Regions from separate parts of the Homo sapiens genome. Here all the other regions are linked to region 1. The links are contacts of gene promoters, found by promoter capture Hi-C in blood cells and fetal thymus (Javierre and others, 2016). All regions are on one chromosome and are shown on one strand. Each heading gives the region's core, a stretch centred on a gene start or on the middle of the fragment in contact. The rest is flanking DNA. Distances are from core to core; before and after follow the strand shown.

Region 1 (4,250 bases), core at 1,712-4,211:
GCAGACAGGGCTGTAACTTGCCAAGGCCCCATCCTTTCCCAGTTGACTGGGCAGAGCATGGGGACAGCCATGTGTTCCTGCTGGCATCCTGTCCCGGAAGAGAAGGGGGCAGTGTGTGCTCCTTGATGGGAGGAGAGGGGATGGGGACGGGGGACTATCAGTCACTCTGGGCTCTCCTAAATGGATACCCCAAGGATTCTTGAGGGTAGAGACAAAGCCCTCAGAGTTGGCCTGTGCCCCCAGGGCTGTGGTATGTGGGTGTGTGTGTAACCTGAAGACCTTCCTCACTGTCCTGGGCCCTGAGTACCCCTGAGGAAACATGACATTGCCTTGGGGTGGCAGACCCAGTGTTGAGCCCTAGTGGGGCGGGATGGCTATACACTCCAGTGTCATCTCCCTTTCTCCTGAGGGTGAGGCGCAAGAGCATGGGTTCAGAGTAGGAACCCCACTCTGTGGGTCTCAGACCCAGCACTTCCTGTGTCTCTGCTACCACCTGGCAGGCCAGGGCAATAGCTCCTGCAGACCTCAGAGGTTTCTGGAAAGGAGGAGCACCAGACATGCCCCACCACTCTCCAGTGCGTCCTGACAACATGCTGGCTGGCAACATCTCACCTGAGCCACCAGCCACAGCCACAGGTTTGCAGGAGGCCTCTGGTCTGCAGGGGCAGGAAGGGCTCACTGAGGTCCTGCACAGCCTGGGGAGGGGTGGAGAGTGCCTTGGAGTTGGGCGCAGCCTGGCCCTGCCACTGTCAGCCTTGGGGCTAAGCTGGGTTTCTAAGGGTTACACCTGATACCCCGGAGCTGAGGCAGCCCAACTTGTGCTCTCCAGTGTGGCTAGGCTCTTGGTCCCTGCTTTCATGCAAAACCCTCCTCAGCCTTCAAAGTCCACTTCCTTCTGGCAGCCATCCTGGCCAAAACCAGCAGGCCAGGGCTCCGGGCTCCAGCAGTTTGCCTGCGTGGTGGTCAATTGTCTGTGGGTTCCTTCTACATCCTAGTGCCATGTGGATGATCCTTCATTCCTCCCATACTTCTCAGTCTTCCCCTAGGGGTGCAGTGGTGGTTGGGAGAAATGAGGGCTCTGCCCATGACACCCAAAGTTGCCATCTACTGCAAGGGATGTATGTACCGGGTCGTGAGGTGAGACTGGGGATGGTCCTCATCCTGAGAGCAGTGGTGGATAGCCACATGTGAGATTAAAAAGACTACTCTGGGTGGCAGACAGGGGTGGGCAGAGATCTAAGACATTTAGGAGGTCCTGGGGGATTGGGGGGCACCATCCAGGTGGTGCCCTCCCTGGACAGGTCTGGGGGAAGGAGAAAGGTGATGGAATTTGATATGCCTATTCATGACCTCCATCCAGCTGAGGTGAGTGTCCCCTCCAGCCCAGGGGGTCAGTGCCTCTAAAGCCAGGAGCTGGGCTGGGACAGACCTTGCAGCCACTGGGACCTCTGCTGGCCTCTATTGGGAGCCGCAATCCGGATCCTCCGTGGGAGGGGCCCCAGCACTGGGAGGGCATTGCTGAGGTCAGGGCTGTGCCCAGGCTGAGCTGCCCAGAAGTGGTTGGCCTGTTTATTTGTCCCCAGGTAGTTGCATTCGTGTCCACACTAGTTCCACTTCTCTTTCAGCCCACCCCACCTCCCTCCTGCACCAGCATGGCTGAGTGAGGGGCCTGCTCCTCCCCATCCCACTCTCTGCCTGTGCCAGCCTGGTGATGCCCATGGCCTTGGGCCTTTCAGTGGCTCCTCCTCCAAGCCCCCTCCTCCAGCCCCACCCTTCGGGGCTATCTGGCCACACCTGGACAGAGTCTGCCTGCCCTCCCTCAGTGAGCCTGTGGGCCGCATGTGGCCTGCTCCCCAAAGAACGGAGGTGCCCGCTCCCTGCTTAGGCCTTCTGCCAGCTCTCAAGTCCCCAAAAGACAAACATCCTCACTAGGACCTGGCTACACACGGGACATTTGTGCTCCCTGCCCAACTTCCAGAGTCGGTCTGCCCCAGTTGCCCCCCGGGGACCCGCACCCTGCTGCCTCCCAGTCCAAGTCCAGCTTCCCCGCTGGCTCCCTAGGGCCTGTCCCTCTGTCTTGCTCCCTTCCCACACCTTCCTTCTGCTCTGTGCTGTTACCCACCTTACCTGATGCAGGAGTTCCCACTCTCTAGCCCCAGCCTCTCCTGGAAATCCGACAGCCAGCAGAATCCACCGCCCAGGCTCCCCCAGCCCCCTTCACTCCTCAACTAGGACTGCAGGGTTTCCATCCCGGGGGTCTCCTTCTGTCTTTACCTCTACTTCCTACCGCAGTCCACAGCCTGGCCATTCTACTTCCTCTGTATCTCTCCCATCCGTCCCTACGGAGACCCCTTCCCCCAGGCCTCTGGTCCGGACCGAGTCTACCACAGGCCTCAAGCATCCTGCTCGGTCCGCCCCTTGCGAGCTCTGAGTGCGCAGGAGTGCGCAGGGGGAGCTGACCGCACACCCCAGCACTACAAGGACTTCGCGGTGGGGTGCTGTGGAGTTGGCTTTCGGCCTCGACCTGGGCTGTCTGCGGGCCCCACTCCCTTGGCCGGTTCCGAGGCGCTGGGAGCGGGGGTGGGCTTGCGGAGTCGCGTCCGTGTCCCCGATCCGCCTTCCCGTCCCGGGCCTGGCCTACGCAGTGGGCGCGCAGGGGCGGCTGCTTCGGTAGATGTCTAGGGAGCGGAGGGAAAGGCGCGGGAACCGGGGATTCCTCGGGCGGACCCTCCCTCCACCAGCGCTCGGCGGGCCTCCTCCAAGTTCGCCCCCAAGTTTGCGAGCGGCCAAATGGGGGCGGGGGCTGCGCGGAGGGGCGGTGGCTAGGCCGGAGGGTGGGGTCTGGAGCGCGGGGCGGGCGCTGCCGCCTGGCCGGCCGCGGCTGGCCCGGGATCAGGGAGCCGATGTGGAATTTCCTGCCCGGCTCGGCGCCCCTCCTGCCGCCCCCCGCCCGGCCTCGCACTCCGCTTCCGGCCGCTCTCGCTGCGGCCGCACCCGCGCCCGTGCCCGCCCCGCGCCTGCCCCGCGCCTCATGGAGGGCGCAGGGCCCCGGGGGGCCGGGCCGGCGCGGCGCCGGGGAGCCGGGGGGCCGCCGTCACCGCTGCTGCCGTCGCTGCTGCTGCTGCTGCTGCTCTGGATGCTGCCGGACACCGTGGCGCCTCAGGAACTGAACCCTCGCGGCCGCAACGTGTGCCGTGCTCCCGGGTAGGAGCCGGCCTGGCTGGGGGAGGGGGCGAGAGGGACGCTCTGGGCAGTGGTGTGGCGGCGCCGGGCATTGGGAGGGGGCTACCGGAACCTTCCTACGCCAAGTGTGGGCCCCTTCGGCTCCCTAGCCAGCGCGGCTCCGTTCCAGGCCCAGCCTCGGCCATGGGCCACGACAGTGCATCCCAGGGAACCCTGGACGAGAAGTCACCTGAGGGGAGGATGGAGTGCCGTGGGCACCCAGGGGATGACACGCGTTGTCCGGGATATCAGGAAAGACCTGGAAAAAGGGACCCTTGACCGAGTTGTGAAGTCCACGGGGAAAAGCTGGGGAAGGGCATTCAAGCCAAAGGAACTGCATGTGCTAAAGCCCCGCACTAGTCCGACTGGAGCCGGGAGTGGGAGTGAGGAGGAAGGTCAGGGGAGGAGGAGCGGTGCTAGCCGGGGAGGTCCTGGAGCAAGCCAGACTTGGAAAGACAGATTCGCGTCTTAGAGCGGGCGCGGGTGGGAGGGTGGTGACCCAGGCGAGCGTCGAGGAGCCGGCGCTCGAAGTGGACCAGAAGCGGGAGGCGGAAGGACTATGACAGGCACAGGGGACCGGAGGATGTGGGAACCCTGGCGACAACCAGGTGGGGATTCTGGGTGCAAGAAGGGGCCGCGCAAATGTGGGGCGCCGGCTGGGGAAGCCAGTGTGGGACAGGCAGGCGACAGGCCCGGCCGGTGGGGGGGCGAGTCCGGGAGTTTGCACGGAGGGCAGAGAGGTGAGCCCCGGACGCCAGGAGTTAGGAGCTGGGGTCGGGGGAGCCGGTGGGCTGGCCAAAGGCCACAAGGTCAAGGGCATCTCCACGCAGGGGTGAGGAGCGGGCGTGTGGGGGCGCCTTGGCGCGGATTGGAGACGCCGCACGGGCTGGCAGCCGCAGAGGCGGCCGCCGGGCTCCGAGCTGGGTCGCGTCGGGGCGCCTGAGCCACGGACCCGGGGCAAGCCGAGTCCAGGGGCTCGGCGCCAGAGACAAGGGGCTGCGAGGGGGCAGCGCGGGGTTTCCGAACTC
Region 2 (4,359 bases), core at 2-2,501, 190 kb after region 1:
GCTCCCTGGGCTGCTGGGGTGAGCTGCTGACCTCAGCAGCCGCCTGCCTGCCCAATGGCTGGGCATATCCCCAGAGCCTCCCACCGCCACCTCCCCATCCCCCTTCTCCACCCCTCCCCTCTGCTCCTGCCCTCCTCGCTCTCCTCCCACCTCCTCCTCCCCCCGCCACACTCCCTCCTGCAGTGAACGTGAACAGCCCTCCACTCACCAGAACTGATGGTGCAGGTGCCCACCTGGGCTGCCTGTTGCTCCCGTCAGGGGGATGCGTCCTGGACTGTTTGCTGCCCAGCCTCCTGGGCCTTCAGCCTGGTGATCCTGGGTCCTACCCTGCCCAGTCTGGCTGCCGCAGGGAGAGGCTCTGGGTCAGTATCCGGTCACTGTCCCCGCTGGGAAAGCTCAGAGCCTTCCAGGCAGGAGAGCCAGCCCTCCCCTGACTGTGGCTCCTGAGCCAGGCCTGGGCTGAGACAGGAGCTCCTAGCTATGACCCAGCCCTGACAGCCAGCAGGGCCATCCTCCGGGGAGGTCCCAGGAGGAGACCCTGGAGGAAAGAAGAGATGTTAATTGGCCTGGGAGGGTGGGAGAGGCACAGATGTACCAGTTTGTGTGCAGCTTGGAGGCTGAGGAGAGCCCTCTGGGGCCCTCGCAGGCTCAGGTGGCCGCAGGGCCAACCTGGGTGGGGACGGTGGACAGGCACGCTATCCATGGTTTCTCTGTGAGAGCTGGGGCCATGGCAGGGCTGGTTGCTCACCCCGTGTGCAAGGGGCAGGAAGGACAGAGCTCATACTGGAGGCTCCGTGAGAACTGGGGCCAGGGTGAGACTGGGTGAGAGTGGAAAGTGGGGTGATGGCAGGCAGGGAGGCCATGCTATCTCCAGAAGGACAGTAGAGCATCCTATTAGAGTTGGCCAGGCAGATAGAGGAGAGAGAAAGGTGGGCGAGAGGGCCAGAGAGGCCTTGTGGCCTTGAGGCTGCAGAGCCCAGGGGACAGGTCAGGGGCCACGGGCCAGGGAGGTCTTTTGGGGTGGGGAGGGGCTGCAGTCCACCATGGGGCCAGGGAGGAGGCTGGTGAGTCACCAGTCTGGCCCCTGGGATGGGGTCAGAGGACACCCTCCCCCCACCTGGCTGCGTCTCCCTCATCCCAGGGCCCCGGCTGTGAAGACAAACCCATGCTGCAAAGTTGGGTTTGATTATCTCATAAAAAGATGCCCCCTCCTGCTCGCTCAGCAGAGGGGTTGCCATGGAGACCAGCGGGCAGGCCCCAAGGGGGGCCAGGCTGGAGCCAATTACCATGGCTGCAGCGAGGAGAGAGCCCACCTCACCCGACTCTCAGAAGTTGGTTTACGAAAAGCAGTTGTCTCGGCAGGAACCGAGCCGTGTCTTTGCGCCCAATACCCACTTCCTGGCAGAACTGAGCGCCACGTGGCCACTCCCCCATGTCCTCCCCTGTCTCCCCCGACCCCGCACCACCGTGTGGCTCAGTTCTGGCACCTCACTGGGGGCATGTTTAGAGTGGACACACAGCTGCTTCGGGAGGGAGATCCATGAGCACAGGGCTCGGTTCAAGGCGAGTGAGCTGAGCCCTGACCACAGCCAGACTCACAGCCCACAGCTTCGGGCCTGGAGCCACAGGACAGTGGTGGGATGGTGGCATGGCTCAGTGGTAATGTGGCGGGCGTGGCCACCATGGGTGGCTAGTCTTGGTGGGTGCAGTCAGCCGCATGGTATGGTTGGTGACAAGGCTCAGTTGGTGACCCCCACAGTCAGTGGTGTGGTGTGGTCGATAATGTGGCAGTGAGTCCTGACCCTGCCCCATGAGCATGTGGGGCCTCCACCCCACCTGGCCCCAGGACAGGAAGTGCCATTTACATAGCACAGTTTTCCCTCTGGTGACAGCAGGTGAGACAGCAGTGGGGAGCTGACATGGTCAGGCCCCACCTTCCTAGGAAGAGTGTGTAGAAAGAGAGCAGAGAGGGTGTCCGCAGTTTAAACAGAACACGAGGCCAGGTGCTTTCCTCACCCAGCCCACCCAGGGAGGGGCCTCCGGACCCCCATCCCTGGGCTGCCATCTCCCTGGTAGCCAACAAATGGCCCTGGGGCAGGGGGTTTGGCAGAGGAGGCCCCCAGGCTGTGGGGAGGGGGTCTGAGGACCTATGAACCTGAGTCTGGGAGGACGCACATGCCCAGCGGTCACTGCGCGTGCTGGGCTTGCTGGGCTCTGCGTTTAGGGCGACTGCACTGTCTGCCCAAGTAGAGAGGACCCAGTGGGGCAGGGGCCCCATGTGGGTAGGAGGGCCCCAGGGTCACAGTTCTAGGTTGGGGAAGCTGGCCTGTGGTCCACTCCTTCCTCCTGCCCGGCTCCAACCCCAGCACTTAGCCGGCCTCATGTCTGCAGAATCCTGCTCTTAGCCAGCTGCCGTGGAAGGTGTTAGCTGTCAACGCAGGTGTTAGCTGATAACTCAAGTGTTAGCTGATAAGCCATAACCTTCCCAGGGGGATTCACATTTTAATAGACTCACTGCTGAAGGCAGAAAGAATCTTCAGCATTCCAAAGGGGTGGGGGCTCAATGGTGGAATGAGAGGCAGGAAAGCTTACTCCGGAGTGGGTGACCCCGCTGGTGAGACCAGCTCTGGATGCGGCACCCCGGGAGGGACTACTGCCCATGTAGGGCCTTGGTGAAGCCCCAGGTGTATCTGGCCCTGTAATGGAGGAGGGGTTGCAGGCACCTGGGGCTGGGGGAGAACCCACTGGGAGGCTATCCCTGCTGATGGCGTCTGGGTGGGAGGGGTGCAGGCAGCTGGCACTGCAGGGGTTGGCTGGGGAGGAGTGAACTCCTCCCAGGGAGGAGATGGAGCAGAGAATGAGGCCAGGGGGCGGAGGCTTCAGGAGGGTTCCTGCCAAGTCAGGAAGTGCTTGAAAGGAGGATGTGTGGAGGAGGGAGCAGGCTGCCTGGGTGGTTGTGGGACGCGACTCCTCCTAAGCCCTGGACACACTTGCCCTCCACCCCCGCCCTCGGGCATCCAGGCGCCCGTTTTTGAGATAGACGTGCCCAGAGGGACCCCAGCCCCATTGCAGTGTTTCCTAGGCCCTGTGGGTGGAACCCCCACTGGGACCCCCCGGGGACTCCTGCAATGCGGGCTCTGTGTTCACTGGAGTCCTGAGGAGGTACCTGCAGTCACCAGTGTCCATTCCAGGAGGCCTTCAAGTGAGTGCCCCTGGTGACCCAGTGGGCTGCTCCTGGGTGTGGTATGGGGAGTCTGCAGATGTGGCTTCCAGGGTGGAGTGCATGGCTCCAAGGCATGTTCTAGCCCAGCATCGTCCATGAGGCCTGTGAAGCAGGGATCCCAACACTGCGATTCCCGGGGGTGGTGGCCACATCTTGGACCCAGCCCCAGGTCCTCCTGAGACCCAATCTCCGGGGCCCACCTGGCTCTAGCAAAACCTCCAGCTTCTCCAGTACCCCTGCCCTTCCTGCTAACCACTCTGTCTTCTGCCCACAGGGAGCCGGCTGCTGGCATGGGTGCTGTGGCTGCAGGCCTGGCAGGTGGCAGCCCCATGCCCAGGTGCCTGCGTATGCTACAATGAGCCCAAGGTGACGACAAGCTGCCCCCAGCAGGGCCTGCAGGCTGTGCCCGTGGGCATCCCTGCTGCCAGCCAGCGCATCTTCCTGCACGGCAACCGCATCTCGCATGTGCCAGCTGCCAGCTTCCGTGCCTGCCGCAACCTCACCATCCTGTGGCTGCACTCGAATGTGCTGGCCCGAATTGATGCGGCTGCCTTCACTGGCCTGGCCCTCCTGGAGCAGCTGGACCTCAGCGATAATGCACAGCTCCGGTCTGTGGACCCTGCCACATTCCACGGCCTGGGCCGCCTACACACGCTGCACCTGGACCGCTGCGGCCTGCAGGAGCTGGGCCCGGGGCTGTTCCGCGGCCTGGCTGCCCTGCAGTACCTCTACCTGCAGGACAACGCGCTGCAGGCACTGCCTGATGACACCTTCCGCGACCTGGGCAACCTCACACACCTCTTCCTGCACGGCAACCGCATCTCCAGCGTGCCCGAGCGCGCCTTCCGTGGGCTGCACAGCCTCGACCGTCTCCTACTGCACCAGAACCGCGTGGCCCATGTGCACCCGCATGCCTTCCGTGACCTTGGCCGCCTCATGACACTCTATCTGTTTGCCAACAATCTATCAGCGCTGCCCACTGAGGCCCTGGCCCCCCTGCGTGCCCTGCAGTACCTGAGGCTCAACGACAACCCCTGGGTGTGTGACTGCCGGGCACGCCCACTCTGGGCCTGGCTGCAGAAGTTCCGCGGCTCCTCCTCCGAGGTGCCCTGCAGCCTCCCGCAACGCCTGGCTGG
Region 3 (4,079 bases), core at 1,382-3,881, 230 kb after region 1:
GGGCGGGCACGCTACACTCTGAAGTCTGAATCGTCCCTGGCCAGCCTGTGGCTGCTCTCACCTTTCCTTTGCTGCAGTGTGTGTCAAACACATGAATGAATGAGCAAATGAGTGAATCAGTCCCTGCCACCAGACCCCACAGGGTTACATCAAGGCCACCGAGGCTCAGCCGGGACAGGACTGGCCGGTATCACACAATCGGTGGGGGGAGGGCATCACACCCGGACTTCTGCACACAGGGCCTCTTTGCCAGAGGCTGGGCTGGAGCTCGACCCCAGGGCCACCTGGCTCACCTCATCTGTCCCCATAGCCACCTTTCAGTCCCCACCATGGCCACCATCCCCTTGTCCCCCACCTCCGTCCCCACAGCCACCCTGCCCACGGAGTTGATCGCTTGATTAAGCGCAGCATTTCAGTGCCCAGGGAGAAAAATCAATTCGCTTGGTTCCACTTTAATCCATCAGTTCCATTTCTGATAAATGTCCCCGTGCTGGAGTCACCATGTAGCCGCAGTGCCCCGCAGAGATTAGCTGCTAGGTCAGGGCAGCCAGGGCGAGCATCTGGCGAGCTGGGGCAAGCCTGGACCCTCAACTTGCCGTGACTCCCCACCCCTCTTCCCAGCACTTTACATGGTGGTAAGTGTGGGTACAGAGGTCAGAGCCCAGCTCTGGCCCCACCTGCCAGGGCCTGGATGAGCCCAGCTCCCAAGCTGCGAGCTGGTGACATTGTGGGGCTGGGATTAAATGGGATCTGCGGCTGCCAGGCTGGGCTTCTCAGGAATGAGCTGGCACTGGAGGACGAGTGGATTAGACGCGAGGTCAATATTTGTGGAATTGAATTGAATCTGTCACTTGGGGCGTGTATGTTCCAGGTAATTTTGTGGTTTCTGCCTCTGGCAGGAAAACCCAACACGATGACTGCCCCTCGCAGGCCACAGTCAGCCCGGCCCCAGGAGAGAGACCCGTGGAGCCCTATGTCTCAGCAGGCAAGGTAGGGGGACGGGGCAGGGGCAGGGAGGTCCCCGAGTGCTGGCCAGGGGAGGAATCTGCAGTGGTTGCCGGCTAAGGAGGGTCTGCCCTGGCCCCTGGGGCATGGAGGCCCCACAGCCAGGCCCCACCCCCAGCTCCTGGGACCTGCTGGCCTTTTAGGAGACGGGGGAGGCTGGGCCTGACCTCTCTGCAGGTGGTGTCACTGCAGGGCCACACTGCACTGTGCTGGTTGTTGTCCAGGGTGGGCAGATAGAGGGATGTGGACGGTGGGAGCCAGGGGAAGGGCAGAAGGGGACACTGGGCCACCCTGGAGAAGCCAGGTCAGGGCTGGCCCAGCAGGATGGGGGCTCTCTGCCTCTATGGCCAGCATTCCCAGCTGAGTCCCCAACTCTGCAGCCAGGAAGCCCCGTAGTGTGAAGGATGGGGACATCGCGATGCCCTGGCCCTGAGCCCACCAGGTGGCCCCAGGGCCCCACCCTGCCTGGCTCTTCCTGCATGGGTCTGGGGTGATGGGGGCTCATCTGAGGCCCAGTGCTGCCCACCTCGAATCCCCAAATCCCAAATTGGATTAGTTGTGTTTAGAAAGCAGCAAAGCTGCTATATTTGAGCAAAGGCTCAGCAGATTACCCTGGGCCAAGAGGGTGTCTGCCTGTGTGAGGGGGATTTGAGGAGGAAAAACTGCACTAAACAAGTGTTCATTGAAAAGAAACTTGGGGGATCATCTGAGTCAGCCGGGCCCTCCACCTGCCCCATAACACCTTCTCCAGCATGGGCTCCTGCTGCTGCTGGGACAACCAAGCAGGAGTGGACGGGGTCAGGCCACAGGCCACTGGGCCCAAGGCCAGGAAGGGGCGCCCAGGACTGCCCATGGGAGAAGGGCGTGGTGCCGACACGAGGTCACCTGGAGTCCCTGGGACTGGCCCTCCACCTCGTGACTCAGTCGCCACCCGGTGGCCCTCTCAGAAGCCCAGGGCCCAGCATACAGGAAGCTCCATGAGTGCTCATCATCACACACACTCCAGAGGCTGAGAACATCTTGGAGGCCTGGGGCCTGCTGGCCAGACCCTGTCCTGGGCCCTGAACACAGGCTGGGCCTGGAAGGGACAGTGAGGGGGGCCAGAGCCCATGCCTGCTCAGTGCAGCAAGCCCAGGCACCTGGTGGGTGGGCCCTGCAGCCAGGGAGGCCCCTGCACCCCACCCTTCCCAGCCCTGCCCTGGGTACCGTGTGCCACATCTCAGAGCCCACCCATGGGGCCCTCCCAACTCCAGCCAGGAGGGAGGATAGAGAACTTTTATTTCAGAAGAGTGCAAATAAACAAATCCTTCCTTCCCCCACCATAAAGAGCCCGGCTGGCTTTAGGAGAGAAGGCAGAATTTTTAGCCTCTCCTTTCCTCAAGGCACAGCAGGCCGAGCCTGTGTCACTCATGGCCCCTTTTACAAGTAAAGAATCCAGCTCTGGGCAGTCAGGTCTGCCCAGTGGAGGTGTTTGCCCTGGGGGGCCGGCTCACCTATCCGTAGGACCTGGCTCCTAGGGGTCCAGCCAGTCCCTGGCCTCCTGTTGATACGGAAAGGAAGTGCTGAGAAGGGAAAAGCGTGGTCCCTTTAAATGATACAGAGGAGGGACGGGAAGTGCTCCGTAGAGAAGGGCGTGGTCCCTGCCTAGGGCTCCACCCCCACGAACCTAGGTGAGGACAGGCATTTCCTGCCCAAATGTTGCATTTCCCAAGACCACCCTGGCCTGCCATGCCTCCATCCTATGCCTATAAAAACCCAAGACCCTAGCAAGGCAGAGACAGAAGCCTCTGTGTGGGGAGAGGAACACACTGGTGGAAGAAGACAAGCTGCTGGACATCCCGAGAATGTTGCCTGACTCCAGGGGAAAACCATCTCCCCTCTGGCTCCCCCATCTGCTGAGAGCTACTTCCACTCAATAAAACCTTGCACTCATTCTCCAAGCCCACGTGTGATCCAATTTTTTGGTACACCAAGGCAAGAAACCCTGGGATACAGAAATTCCTCTGTCCTTGTTATAAGGCAGGGGTCTAATTGAGCTCACTCTCACCAGCCACCTACAGACCGCTAGACTAAAAGACCACCCGGTAACGCACTCCCACTGGGGTTTCAAGAGCTGTAAACATTCACCCCCAGACACTGCCATGGGGTCAGAGCCCCACAGCCTGCCCGTCTGTATGCTCCCCTAGAGGTGTGAGCGGTGGGGCACTGAAGAAGCGAGCCACTCCCCCGCTGCATGCCCTGCGCCCTGCGCGGGGTAACCAGGGAACCCTTCCTGTTTCACTGTTTCACTGGGTAGAGATCTCCCGGCTGGAGACAGAATGGTGGGGAGAGGCCAGATGTGCCCAGCAGGTAGGGGATTCTCCAGGGGGGAGGCTGAGGCTGTTAGGAAAGGAGGGGCTGAGGGGGCGCCACAGCCCTCCCCGCTCCGCACCACACCCCACGTTAAACCCCTGTCCTCCACTCCTCTCCTGGGGCTAAGGAGGCTGAGAGTAGAGCTCAGAGGCCCACGCCCAGCACACAGGAGGCAGTGGGGGCTGTGGACGGGGCCAACGAGCCATGGGGTTGCTGGGCTGAAGCACCGGTGATGGCAGGCGTGTGAGAGGGAAGTGGGGGTGAGCCAGCCCTGTGGGCCTCTAGGCCCAGCTTCTGGGTATCCTGGCCCCCTGGAATGACCCAGGGCAGGAGCCTCTGACACCCGCCCCAAATGCCTGTGACCCCGTCCTGAGTGGGGGTCCTCCTTCTGGCCGTGACCGCCCTGGAGTGGCTTCTCAGCATTTTGTGGTCAGCACTCTCAGCCCCTCTGCCTTGCACCGTGTCATTTTCAGCAGATCCTGAGCCAGAGAAGGCCATCAATTATTCAGCTCCTGCCTCTCAGCCTCCTCCGTTAGTACCTCTTAAAGCCGGGAAGATAAATCTCTCCGCTTGCTCCGTGGCGCCGACAGGAAGCAGGGCGGCACCAGGACCGTGACAGGCCCCGGCTGGGCCCCGGTTTCCCGAGCCAGCACAGGCGGCCTGCAAGGCTTCTCTGCTATTAAATCCATAATTCAGCGGCAACGCAGCTGGGGCCTGGCACA

The links. The method cuts DNA at HindIII sites, captures the fragments that hold promoters and counts their contacts. A CHiCAGO score of 5 or more calls a contact.
Region 2: a fragment that was not itself captured here is called in contact with the fragment with the promoter of SCARF2 in region 1 in 1 of 17 cell types (erythroblasts); the score reaches 5.9 in erythroblasts.
Region 3: a contact is called between the fragment with the promoter of LINC00896 here and the fragment with the promoter of SCARF2 in region 1, in 2 of 17 cell types (M1 macrophages and erythroblasts). The highest score is 6.3, in M1 macrophages.

What each region holds. Positions count from the first base shown.
Region 1 is chr22:20,436,536-20,440,785 of GRCh38, reverse strand. It overlaps SCARF2 (scavenger receptor class F member 2), which reads left to right and starts at 2,961. Exons shown (of 11, transcript NM_182895.5): 1 at 2,961-3,204. The coding sequence starts at 3,032. LOC107985588 (a long non-coding RNA gene) reads right to left here and starts at 2,790. Exons shown (of 2, transcript XR_001755623.2): 1 at 2,275-2,790. The HindIII fragment of the contact is 6,009 bases long and covers 1-4,250 here.
Region 2 is chr22:20,242,249-20,246,607 of GRCh38, reverse strand. RTN4R (reticulon 4 receptor) reads left to right here. Exons shown (of 2, transcript NM_023004.6): 2 at 3,498-4,359. Among named protein-coding and RNA genes, the nearest start is that of MIR1286, 4.8 kb to the left of the region's middle. RefSeq lists enhancers at 2,844-2,893, 3,309-3,901. The HindIII fragment of the contact is 2,676 bases long and covers 1-2,589 here.
Region 3 is chr22:20,204,884-20,208,962 of GRCh38, reverse strand. It overlaps LINC00896 (long intergenic non-protein coding RNA 896), which reads right to left and starts at 2,631. Exons shown (of 1, transcript NR_026919.1): 1 at 426-2,631. It overlaps LOC105372862 (a long non-coding RNA gene), which reads left to right. Exons shown (of 3, transcript XR_938009.3): 2 at 900-990; 3 at 2,718-2,945. It overlaps LINC02891 (long intergenic non-protein coding RNA 2891), which reads left to right and starts at 4,045. Exons shown (of 4, transcript NR_038460.2): 1 at 4,045-4,079. RefSeq lists enhancers at 536-1,066, 2,275-2,514. The HindIII fragment of the contact is 30,249 bases long and covers 1-4,079 here.